Regions from separate parts of the Homo sapiens genome. Here region 2 is linked to region 1. The links are contacts of gene promoters, found by promoter capture Hi-C in blood cells and fetal thymus (Javierre and others, 2016). All regions are on one chromosome and are shown on one strand. The core of a region is centred on a gene start or on the middle of the fragment in contact, and the rest is flanking DNA. Distances in the headings are between cores, read along the strand shown. Region 1 holds the start of C16orf87 (chromosome 16 open reading frame 87). Region 2 overlaps ABCC11 (ATP binding cassette subfamily C member 11).

What was found. The method cuts DNA at HindIII sites, captures the fragments that hold promoters and counts their contacts. A CHiCAGO score of 5 or more calls a contact.
Region 2: a contact is called between a fragment that was not itself captured here and the fragment with the promoter of C16orf87 in region 1, in 1 of 17 cell types (M0 macrophages). The highest score is 7.2, in M0 macrophages.

What each region holds. Positions count from the first base shown.
Region 1 is chr16:46,829,161-46,834,669 of GRCh38, forward strand. C16orf87 (chromosome 16 open reading frame 87) reads right to left here and starts at 2,020. Exons shown (of 4, transcript NM_001001436.4): 1 at 1,924-2,020. The coding sequence starts at 1,989. RefSeq lists a silencer at 1,717-2,366. The HindIII fragment of the contact is 5,874 bases long and covers 1-3,145 here.
Region 2 is chr16:48,184,847-48,190,355 of GRCh38, forward strand. It overlaps ABCC11 (ATP binding cassette subfamily C member 11), which reads right to left. Exons shown (of 30, transcript NM_001370497.1): 21 at 2,355-2,581; 22 at 2,107-2,244. Among named protein-coding and RNA genes, the nearest start is that of ABCC12, 32 kb to the left of the region's middle. RefSeq lists a silencer at 3,592-3,886. The HindIII fragment of the contact is 4,577 bases long and covers 365-4,941 here.

The DNA of each region.
Region 1 (5,509 bases), core at 770-3,269:
AGAGAGCTTGACCCTCTTTCTGCCATGTGAGGACACCAAGAAGACAGCCATCTGCAAGCCAAGAAGAGAGCCCTCACCAGAACATAATCATGCTTTTGTTATGGCAGCCAAAGCTGGGTAAGCTGATTTTATATGAAAGAATAAATATGGGGGAGGGGGTGTATAACAAAATGAATGTGATCTTTCCAAATAAAACGCTGATCTTGTTTTGTTGAACAGTTTTTCAGAAACTCCTATAAGTTTATTATCCTTTGCTCTTTTATATAAAAATAGCCATAAAAAGTGGCTATTTTTCCCAAAAGGTTGCTTTATGCCAATTAGAACAAAGTCAGGATTTGCAAATACTTGTGCCTTACAGAAATTGGAATGCATAACGCATACCATGTAAACCTTACACTTCTACACAATTAACTGGAATAATTGGAAATGATTTAAACACTGAAATAATCTCCCGCAAAGAGTCATATTGCAAAGTCCAGTTTTGTCAAAATTTAACAAATTTAGTTCAGTAGTAAGAATGAAAGTAACTCTTTGGAAAACATGACTAAACTGTTTTTATACTGCATACTGGTATAGCTCCTACACTGTATTTCTTGCACAACCTTTTTCTGATAAGCATTTTTACTACAGCCCATAAAGGATACTTAATAAAACATGTAACATGTTTTCTGTTAAAAGATTTGAAAAACCTACAAGAATTCTCCTTGAAAAATGCACTAAAATCAGCTTATTAAAAAGTCTCCAGCCATTTCAAATTACTCTTGATTTAAAAAAAAAAAAAGGCGGTGGGGGGAGGGGAGGAGAGAAAGGTAGTCATTTTGAAAAAATCCACTCAGTGGAAAAGGAAAAAACACACCCAGATCTACATGTTGGTAACAAACGAGGGCCTTACGAATGGTTTTAACTGAAGTAGTTTTAACTCATTAGATGTTAAGGCTTAAAGGAATGTCTATTATTCCAGTAAAGAATTGAGACACGCTTCAACACAGCGATCACTGAAATGAGATGTTTTAAATTACAACTATTACACCATGAACTCAATGTAGAAAGGAATCGTTTCAAATTCAAGAAACGAGATAGAGAGATAGAGAGATAGAGAGAGACAGACAGAGAGAGAGAGAGAGAGAGAGAGAGAGAGAGAGAGAGAGACACACAGAGACATTCAGACAGACAGGGATACAGATCTGGAAGCAGACAGGCCAAATTTGTAACAGTGGATACTGCGAGGGGTGGGGAAGTTAGGAGCGCCCAAAAAGGAGGAAGGGCTTAAACAGGGGCTTTATTCAATCATGACCCATTAAAAACGATGTAAAGGCAGGATTCGCGATTGCACAGCAAAAATATAATAAATAGATGAGGAAGGGGAAAAAATCTCCAAATTCGCCGAAACTCAAAATCATTACACGCGGCCCCCTTTGTCCCACTCAGGCGCCCGCCCCGGTCGCGGAGGGGCCGTTTTGGGGAAGCCCCGCACCCGTCGGAACCGGGAACAAAGCCGCCCCGGCCGCAGGAGGGGTTCTCGGAGCTAGGGCCTGGCCTCGGAGGCGGGCGTGCGGCACACTCTCGCCGGGGCTGCGGCCCGCAGGCTCCCACCGCTGTCACCGCCGCCGGCGAGGAGAGTCTGGGGCTCCAGACAGCCGCCCGGTGAGCCCACCAAAGGCGCGCTCCTCCAGTGGCCGGGACACAGCAAGAAGGGGCTTGGCCGTCTGGCCGCCGCCAGGTGGACGCTGGCGGGCCACGGCCCCGGGCTTTTCCCGGGAAACCCCTCGGTGCAGCCCGACCGGCCCCGGATCCCCGCCGCCGCCGGCGGGCCCCAGGATCTGCCCACCGCTCGGCCTCCGGGAGCCCGGCGAGGCCCCCCTCCACAGACAACGGCCGCCAAGCCACTGCCGCCCGCCCGCGCGCCCGGCCCCCGGCACCCACCTGTTGGTCGCACTCGGGGCATGATTTGGTGGCCATCTTCACTTTCTTGGCTCGAGTTGCAGACATGCTCCTCTCCCTTAGCGGCGGCAGCAGCGACGGCTCGGGCTCCTCCCCTCACACTTCGGCAGCCCGGCCTCCGCCCGCCCAGTCCCCGCGGGCCTCAAACAAGCCTCTGGCGGGTGCGCGCGCGCGCGTGCGCGAGCTCGCGCGGGACCTGGGCGCCAAGGGGGCGGGGCGGAGCGTCGGCCGGCGGCTCCTGGGGACCGCGACACGCGCTCCCACGGCGGCTCGCGACCCACAGCCCGCCCGCGAGCTCGCCCAGAGTATCACGAGACGAGGGGAGACCTCCCCCCCCTCCGCCAGACCGCCCCGGCGCGGCAGTGGCCACGCCTCCTCTCGGCCTGGCCGACTACGAGGGGGCAAGGCCTGGGCGGGACTCGGCAGTAACGGGCGTCGAGTTCGACCAACGAATGCATAGGTAGGGCGGGCCGTAGTGCTGGGCACGCCCCATCCCCACAGAGACCGTGGGAGCGAAGGCTGGGGAATGAATGGTGAAGGGCGTAGCGTGGATCCTGGCATTTAATAAACTTAAGTAGATGTTACCAAGGCTAATCATTGAGAAATTATGATAGACATTTTATGAGACCACTGGACCCAGCAGCAGAGTGAAAATTCATTTATTTATTCAATATATAATTGCCTAAGTCCCACTGTCAGGAAAATTTGAATAAAATGCAGTGTCAGCCTTCAAGGAGCAGCCTAGCTGTGTAAACCAGTGCTACTCACTATCAAGATGAGGGATCAGATGTTTTTCTTTTTCCAATCTGTCCGTGACTGATACTTACTAAATTAACATTAAAATTAAATTATTCGAGGCTGGGCGCAATGGCTCACGCCTGTAATCCCAGCACTTTGGGAAGCCGAGGAGGGCGGATCTCTTGAGCCCAGGAGTTCCAGACCACCCTGGGCAACATAGCGAGACCCCCATCTCTACAAAAAGTAAAAGATTTTTAAAAATTAGCTGAGCGTGGTGGCCCATGCCTGGAGTCCTAGCTAGTAGAGAGGCTGAGGTGGGAGGATCGCTTGAGCCTATGAGATTGAGGCTTCAGTGAGCCGAGATTGTGGCCACTGCACTCCAGCCTGGGCGACAGAGCGAGACTCCGTCTCAAAAAAAAGAAAAAGAAAGAAAAAGTGAAATTTAAAAACAACTATGCAAAACGTAAGCTTACTTTTAAATATTTAATTTGACAGACCCAAAGTTATACTTAATAAACAATCAGAACAAACATAACAGAAAGAAAATTTACAAACTGTACACTTGGCTCAGAGAAAATTTACCAATATGCATTTATTACAGAGACTGGCTATTCCACTGATAACTTTTTATTCAACAATTGTTAACTAAAGCAAAGTTATGAGTTACAATTTTACATAGTAAATGCCTGTAAGCACACTTTGTATAAATAACAGTTATATAAATGTTTAAAGCTTTTAATATGAAACCCACGAAATTGCTTCCTGTTTGGTCCATTTACAGGCATACCTTGGAGGGACTGGGGGTTCAGTTCCAGGCCATTGCAAAAAAGAGAGCCACACTCAATTTTTTGTTGTTGTTTCCCAGTGTATATAATAAACATGTTTCCACTATACTGTAATATATTAAAAGTACAATAGCATTATGTCTAAAAAACAGTGTACACACGTTGATGTTAAAATTGGGCTAAAAATCCTGGGCAAAATGGTGAAACCCGTCTCCACAAAAAATTAAAAAATAGCCATGTGGTGACAGCGTATGCCTGTAGTCCCAGCTACTCAAGAGGTTGAGTTGGAGGATCCACTGAGCCCAGGAGGTCAAGGCTGCAGTGAACCATGATTGCGCCATTGCACTTCAGCCTGGGTGACAGAGAAAATCCCTGTCTCAAAAAAAAAAAAAAAAAAAAAAAGGAGTTAATCTTCACAAACCCTGCCACTGCTTTATCAACTAATATTTATGTAATATTCTAAATCCTTTGTTGCCATTCCACTATGTTCACAGAATCTTCCCCAGGAGATTCCATCTCAAAAAACCACTTTCTTTGCTCCTTCGTAAGAAGTAACTCCTCATCTGTTCAAGTTTTATCATGAGATTGCAACATTAATCCCAGCACTTTGGGAGGCTGAGACAGGAGGATTGCTTGAGCTCAAGAGTTCAAGACCAACCTGGGCAACATAGTGAAACCTCATCTTCACAAAAAAATACAAATCTTAGCTGGGCATGATGTGCACCTGTAGTTCCAGCTACTTGGGAGGCTGAGGTGGGAGGAATGCTTGAGCCCAGCAGGTCGAGGCTGTAGTGAACCACAATCGTGCCACTGCACTCCAGCCTGGACAACAGAGTGAGACCCTGCTGTGTGTCCCGCATTTGCAATTACATCCTCCACTGAAGTCTTGAACCCCTCAAAGTCATCCATGAGGATTGTAATCAACTCCTCCCAAGCTCCTGTTAATGTTTATATTTTGACTTGCTTCCATGAGTCATGAATGTTCTTAGTACTATCTAAAATGGTAAATCATTTCCAGAAGGTTTTCAATTGACTTTGCCCAGATCCATCAGAGGAATTGCTATCTATGGCAGCAATAGCCTTACAAAATGTATTTCTGAAATAATAAGACTTGAAAGTCGAAATTACTCCTTAATCCATAGGTTACAGAATGGATTAGCAGGCATGAAAATAACATTAATTTCTTAAACCTCCATCAGAGCCCTTAGGTAACCAGGTGCATTGTCAATGAGTAATAATATTTTGAAAAGAATCTTTTTTTCCAAGCAGTAGGTCTCAACAGGGGGCTTGAAATATTTAGTAGACCATGACAGATTTGCTGTCATCCAGACTTTGTTATTCCATTTATAGAGTATAGGGAGAGTAGGTTTAATATGTTCCTTAAGGGCCCTAGGATTTGGGGAATGGTATATGAGCACTGACTTCAACTTAAAGTCATCAGCTGCACTTGCCCCCTAACAAGACAGTGAGCCTCTCCATTGAAGGTTTGAAGCCAGGCCTTGATTGCCTTCTTCTCTCTAGCTATGAAAGTCTTAGGTAGCATATTCTTCCAGTAAAAGGCTGTTTTGCCTACAATGAAAATTTGTTCTTCAATGTAGAATTAGCTAGATCTTTTGGATAACTTGCTGCAGCTTCTACATCAGCACTTGCTTCCCACCTTGTACTTTTACATTATGGAAATGGCTTCTTTCTTTTTTTTCTTTTTCTTTTTTTTCTTTATGACGGAGTCTCGCTCTTTCACCCAGGCTGGAGTGAAGTGGCATGATCTCAGCTCACTGCAACCTCCACCCACCTCCCGGACGAGTTCAAGCAATTCTCCTGCCTCAGCCTCCCCAGTAGCTGGGATTACAGGCACCCACCACCATGCCTGGCTAATTTTTGTGTTTTTAGTAGAGATGGGGTTTCACCATATTGGCCAGGCTGGTCTCAAACTCCTGACCTCAGGTGATCTGCCCTCCTTGGCCTCCCAAAGTGCTAGGATTACAGGTGTGAGCCACTGCACCTGGCCGAGTTGCCTTCTTTCTTTAAACCTCAAGAACCAACCT
Region 2 (5,509 bases), core at 1,403-3,902, 1.4 Mb after region 1:
TAAGGCCCATCCTTAGCACGCGCTCCTCGCCTAACCTCTGTGACTCACTCAGGGATGGGTGAGTTACCCCAAATTGGCCACAGAGAGTGAATAAATGCCAGGACGTGTGAGTGAGTGTGGGAGTGATTCCTTTCAGTGGGATGATGGGATATCTGAAACTACCATTCTGCTACTAGGAGGGGAGCCTGGAGCCACCAGAGGGTCTCTGGGAGCTTAAAGGTAAAATAACACCATGGAAGGCAGAGCAGTAAAACCGAGACACCCGGGGAACATTAGCTGAGTCTCTGGATTAAGCCTCACTTTAAGCAAGTCCTCCTCCCCAGCCTTTTGCTATGAAAATTTTTATAAGTACCAAGAGATTAAAAGCTTGATTTAATGAACATCTGTATACCCTCTAATGAAAATTTTTTAAAGTACCAAGAAATTAAAAAGTTTATTCCGTGAACATCTGTATACCCTCTACCTAATTTAGCAATTGTTAGTATTTTGCCATATTTAAGTCATATTTTTAAGCTAGTTTGCATTAGTTTTTTCTGTCACTTCCAACCAAGAAACCTACCAATTTCCAATTTTCACATACCACCATCACAGTTTTCCATGTCAATCACAACCTGTACTGTTATTTGATTAGTATTATTATTTTACTTGCTTTGTTTGAGAATGTATATTAAAAGAAACTTTAATCACAACCTTAAATTATATAAATAATGGGTTTGATATGTTAGTTGCATTTTTTCTAAAGTACATTCAAATAAACCTTTGATTATTGAAATTAAATATTCATTTACTCATCAACTAAAACCATCTTACCATCTGAGTGGGCTATCACCCCAGCAGAGTGGCCCTTCTGACTCACTCTGTCCATACCCTCTGAACCTTTGCATAAGACATTCCAAATTCTGTCCACCTTACCTTTCTATACTGATTGAGTCACCTCCACCTTGAGGCCTTCCCAGATTAAACACAACAGACCCTGGTCACTCTGTGGCCCCTGTGCTCAAGCCACCTTGCTATCCTTCAAACCTACTTCCCCCATCTCATGGTCTTTGCATTTACTGTCCCCTCTGCCTGGAGAGCTCCTACCCACATATTTCCATAGCTCAACCCACACTTCATCTCAGGGTCCTTTTCTCTGACACCTTCCCCAACAACAGCTCCAATCCCTCCAGACTCTCTTCATCTGCTTATCTTAGTATATACCTTGGGGCAGGGTTCTCAGTGTGGGCTGAATGAATGCACCGCTCCAGGATCCCCTCAGTCCTAGAGTCTGCACAGACCTTGAGTGGTCTATAATGCCACTGAGAGAGCAGGTGCCACAATTAATCCAATATTCCAGCTAACTGAGCACATACCGTCTCCCAAATGTGTGCCCAAGTCTTACCCAGGCTTCAAGGCCAGCTCAGATGCCACCTCCTCCCGAAAGCCTTATCTGATTCCCCCAGGCCACCTCCTTCCCCTCTGAATTCCCAAGCAGTTTATCTGCCCCTCTCTTATGCTATCTACCTTCTTCAATCACGTATAATTACAAAAACATGTGCCTGTTTCTCCCTTTTTCCACCAGACTATGAACTTCTTGTAGGTGAAGACCGTGCTTGATTATTCTCTACAAACAGATAAGTTCGTGTTACACCATTAAACCTCAACAACAATCACAGGACTTGTTTGCTTGTTTGTTTCAACATTTAGGGGGCAAATCTATGGCATGAGTAGTGAAGGAAGTTCTATTATTTAGAAAGCTATTGTTCCTCATTATTTTGTTAAAGATAGATATTTGTTTGGAAGTGAAAGAAATAACATAATGCAAGATGTGTTTGCACAGTAATGCACCTTATCATTAAATGTATGTATACATATGTCCATATATATATACACAATATATACAAGGTCTTTAAAGTTTACAAACATTTTTCCTATCATTTACATTTTTCATTCTTATAAATGAAAGAATGGTTCAGCAGGTTCTGGAGGCTCAGAGAAATACGTCCATCGAACAATGTGCTCTCTGATGCTTTTGAAGATGATGCCACTCCCAGACGCTCCATTCTTTCCCTGCTCCCCACCACCCCTGTGGTTCCATCATTCTCAAATGGCAGCAGAAGGACTCACTGGCTGATGAAGTCTTCAGTTTTTCCATAGACATGGATGGAGCTCAGGCCTTGCAGAGAATTGAGGATGTGGGAGAATAAAGGAGACCGGCTATAGTTCTCCAGTCTCTTGAACACACCGATGGCCTTCTTGAACATCCTGCATGGACAGTGGAGGTAAGGGACCTGGACCGTCCACCTCTGGGACCATCTAGTCTGGGTTGGTCCCAGCCTTGCTCCCCAAGTCACAAGCAAAAAGAACCTACTCACATATAATAAATGAAGCAAATAACCATGATTATGGCTCCCATTAACAGGATATATGGAGACAGCACACTGACAATCAACAGGACGGCGATCACCATTAAGGACAGGACCAGGAACTGCTCTGAAAAGATGGGCAAGAGCTGGTCCAGCTGTTCCAAGTCCCCTGCGAAGCAGTTCAAAAGCCGGCCTATTGGGATGGTGTCAAAGAAACTCATGGGGCAGCGGAAAACCTGCAGGGACAAAATCAACGCAGACCATGAGAGAAGCTGCAGGCCCTGCTCAAGATTGGATGAAGATGCCTGTTACCCTTGACTCTAAAGAGCCACGGATCCCAGGGGTCTCCAGGGCAGGCAATGTAGAGCAATGATTTAAAAGCATGGATGGGCTCCACGGCTACCTGACTCCTCCACCTACTGCTGTCTGACCTCGGGCAAGTACTGAGTTCCTCTGAGTCTCAAGGTCCTCGTTAGCGAAATGGGAATGAAAACGATGCTTCACAGAGTTGTAGTGAGGATCACACAACTCCTCAAATATACTAAACACTGAAGTGTATAATTAAAAGGCTGAATGTATGGTATATGAATTATATCCTGTAAAGCTATTAGAGAGAGAGAGAATACATTAAAAATGCTCAGAGCAGTGCCTGCCCCTGAGGTAGGAGGTGAGACTTGACTCTGGAGGCAGGGTTTGAACGCCAGACCAAATTGAGGACTAGCTAAAACAGGGGTGGGGTGGAAGCCACTTTCCATAAGACAGGCCCACCAGTGTGTCGTGTCAGTTTACCATTCCCATGGCAACACCCAGGAGTTACCGCCTCTTTCTGGGTCATCAATGACTTGATGACTTGGAAGTTGCCACCCTTTTCCTAGAAACTTCTGTATAAACTGTCCCTTAATCTACATGTAATTAAAAGTAGGTATAAATATGACTGCAAACCTGCCCTGAGCTGCAGCTCTCAGCACACTGCCTACGGGGTAGCCCTGCTCTGCAGGGTCAGTCACAGAGCTGCAACACTGCCAGAACTGCAACAGTGACACTTCAGTAAAGCTGTTTTCTTCTACCCTACCACTGGCTTGCCCTTGAATTCTTTCCTGGGCAAAGCCAAGAACCCTCATGGACTAAGCCCCAGTCTGGGGTTTACCTGCCCTCCATCACCCCCAGTAGGGCATTCTACCAATACCAGCTCTTATTATTTTCTACAGATGGGACCATTTTCACTCAGGACTGCCAAAGATTAGGAGCAGCAATCCTACTGGGTTGCACACGATTTGGACCCTTGGATCAAATTTAGCCTTAACTGCCCCCTTCTTGAGGGTGGCACCTGCAAGTTGATCTCTAACAGCCAGTGGCCATGAGGCCTTTCGGAGATCAAAGGACATGTCAAACCACAAGGTAGGCTCTAACAAAAGCATTTAGTTTGGTGTCCTTGTTTTGCAGATGAGGAAACTGAAGATTGCAGAAGAGGAAGTGGCTCTGTAACTTACTCATTACGCAAGTGGTTAATGGCAAAACCATGATCCAATTAGGCCTTCTGAGGCTTCCCCAAGCCTGGCACAGTCACTCTTCACAGAAGGCAATTTCTTAAAGGTTCATGGCACTGACCAAATGACCACCTACATTTCCCCATGTACTTCTCAAGCTATAATGCAAGAAGTAGAAATGAATAGAAGCCAATGGCATTTATTAAAGCCAAACTCAAAGAAAGAGGAGGGAAGGACATTTTGACGGTTACTAAATGTAATTATTTGAGCCATGAAGTGTTCTCTGTAGCTGCTCTCATCGCAAATGCATGGATACTGCTGACCAAGCGTAGCTCTCATGTATGTTTGCTTTCTAGCTGGTGGGGTAGTGAGGGTTGGAGGAGCAGATTTAAAGCCTCCTTGCTTTTTCTGCCTCTAAAATCCCTTCAATTTTATTTCCAGAATGTTTTATTAAATACTTGAGCTAAAGCAATCAGAATTGTCATGATCACTCAGAGGAATCAAAGGGCAAAAGGGTCACCCCTTCAAGGACTCTGAGCACACCTTGCAGGTGCGGGGCATGGCAGGGTTGTGGAGGGGACACAGGAGTGGACGTCAGCTCCACTGTGGGTGAGGAAGATGCATCTGTGGAAGCCCAGCATTACTTTGGATTAGGGACCAATGGTGGCGACAAAGGGAAAATGGTTTCAGTTTCTGATTGTCTTCTAAGTATCAAAATGATCTGGGGTTGTTCTTGTTTGTTCATTTTTGCTTCATTTTTTTCTGTTGTGCTTGCAGTTGAGCGAACTTTTTAAGATTTATCCTTTACTTGTGATTCTTTAAAACTACAAAGACAAATTTAAAGTTTAAAAAGCCATGAAAGGACTGGAAAAAGGAAAATATTTTAAACACAAAACACGTTTTCATGGAAAGAAACTTGAACATTTCTCAAAATTAAAATACGAAATGTCATTTAGAGGCATGGGCACTGGATATTTCTAGAATCTTGGAATGTGCCATCAAAAGAAACTCAGAGACCACCTTGAGGGCCGAGGGCCACCCCCAGAGGCCGGGTGGGAAAGTGTCAGGCCTCAGGTAGAATTTCCCCCTCCTGCTTTCTGGTTCTGCCAAGCTTTATCTGAGAGGTGGGGAAAAGCTTTGTCTCACCCTGCCAAAGTTGAAACACTTCATGGCAACACAATTTGCATTCAGTCTACAAGGAACGATGGGCCGCTCCTCACCTCCTGCGTCTCCAAGTCAAAACCCCCACTCCCACCTCTGAGATTAGCCTTCCAGAGCTCCATTCTCCTCCCAGAAGTGCTCTGCTTTTGTTCACCTTCAGTCTCCTGGTCTTGAGCTGGCTAAATCTGATTCCTCCTTCAAGGAGTGAAGTCCCCAAGAAGGCTTTCTGGACTCTCCCCACTTTCTTCCCCTGCCCTCAAGCTAAGACAAGGTGCCTCTTATGTTCTCATGGCCCTGTGTGCTCCATCCCGTGATAAACTTTACATATCTACGACAATGGCCTGTTTTCTTGTCCATCTCCCCCATTAGACTATACATCCATGATGGCCCAAACCCTACCTGCACTGTGCATTCTCTAATGTAAGCCTCATGCCCACTGCAGAACCTGGCACATAGTAACACTTAGTAAGTGAGAGAGAGGAATGACATTTCCAAGAAGCAGTGTGATACCATAAG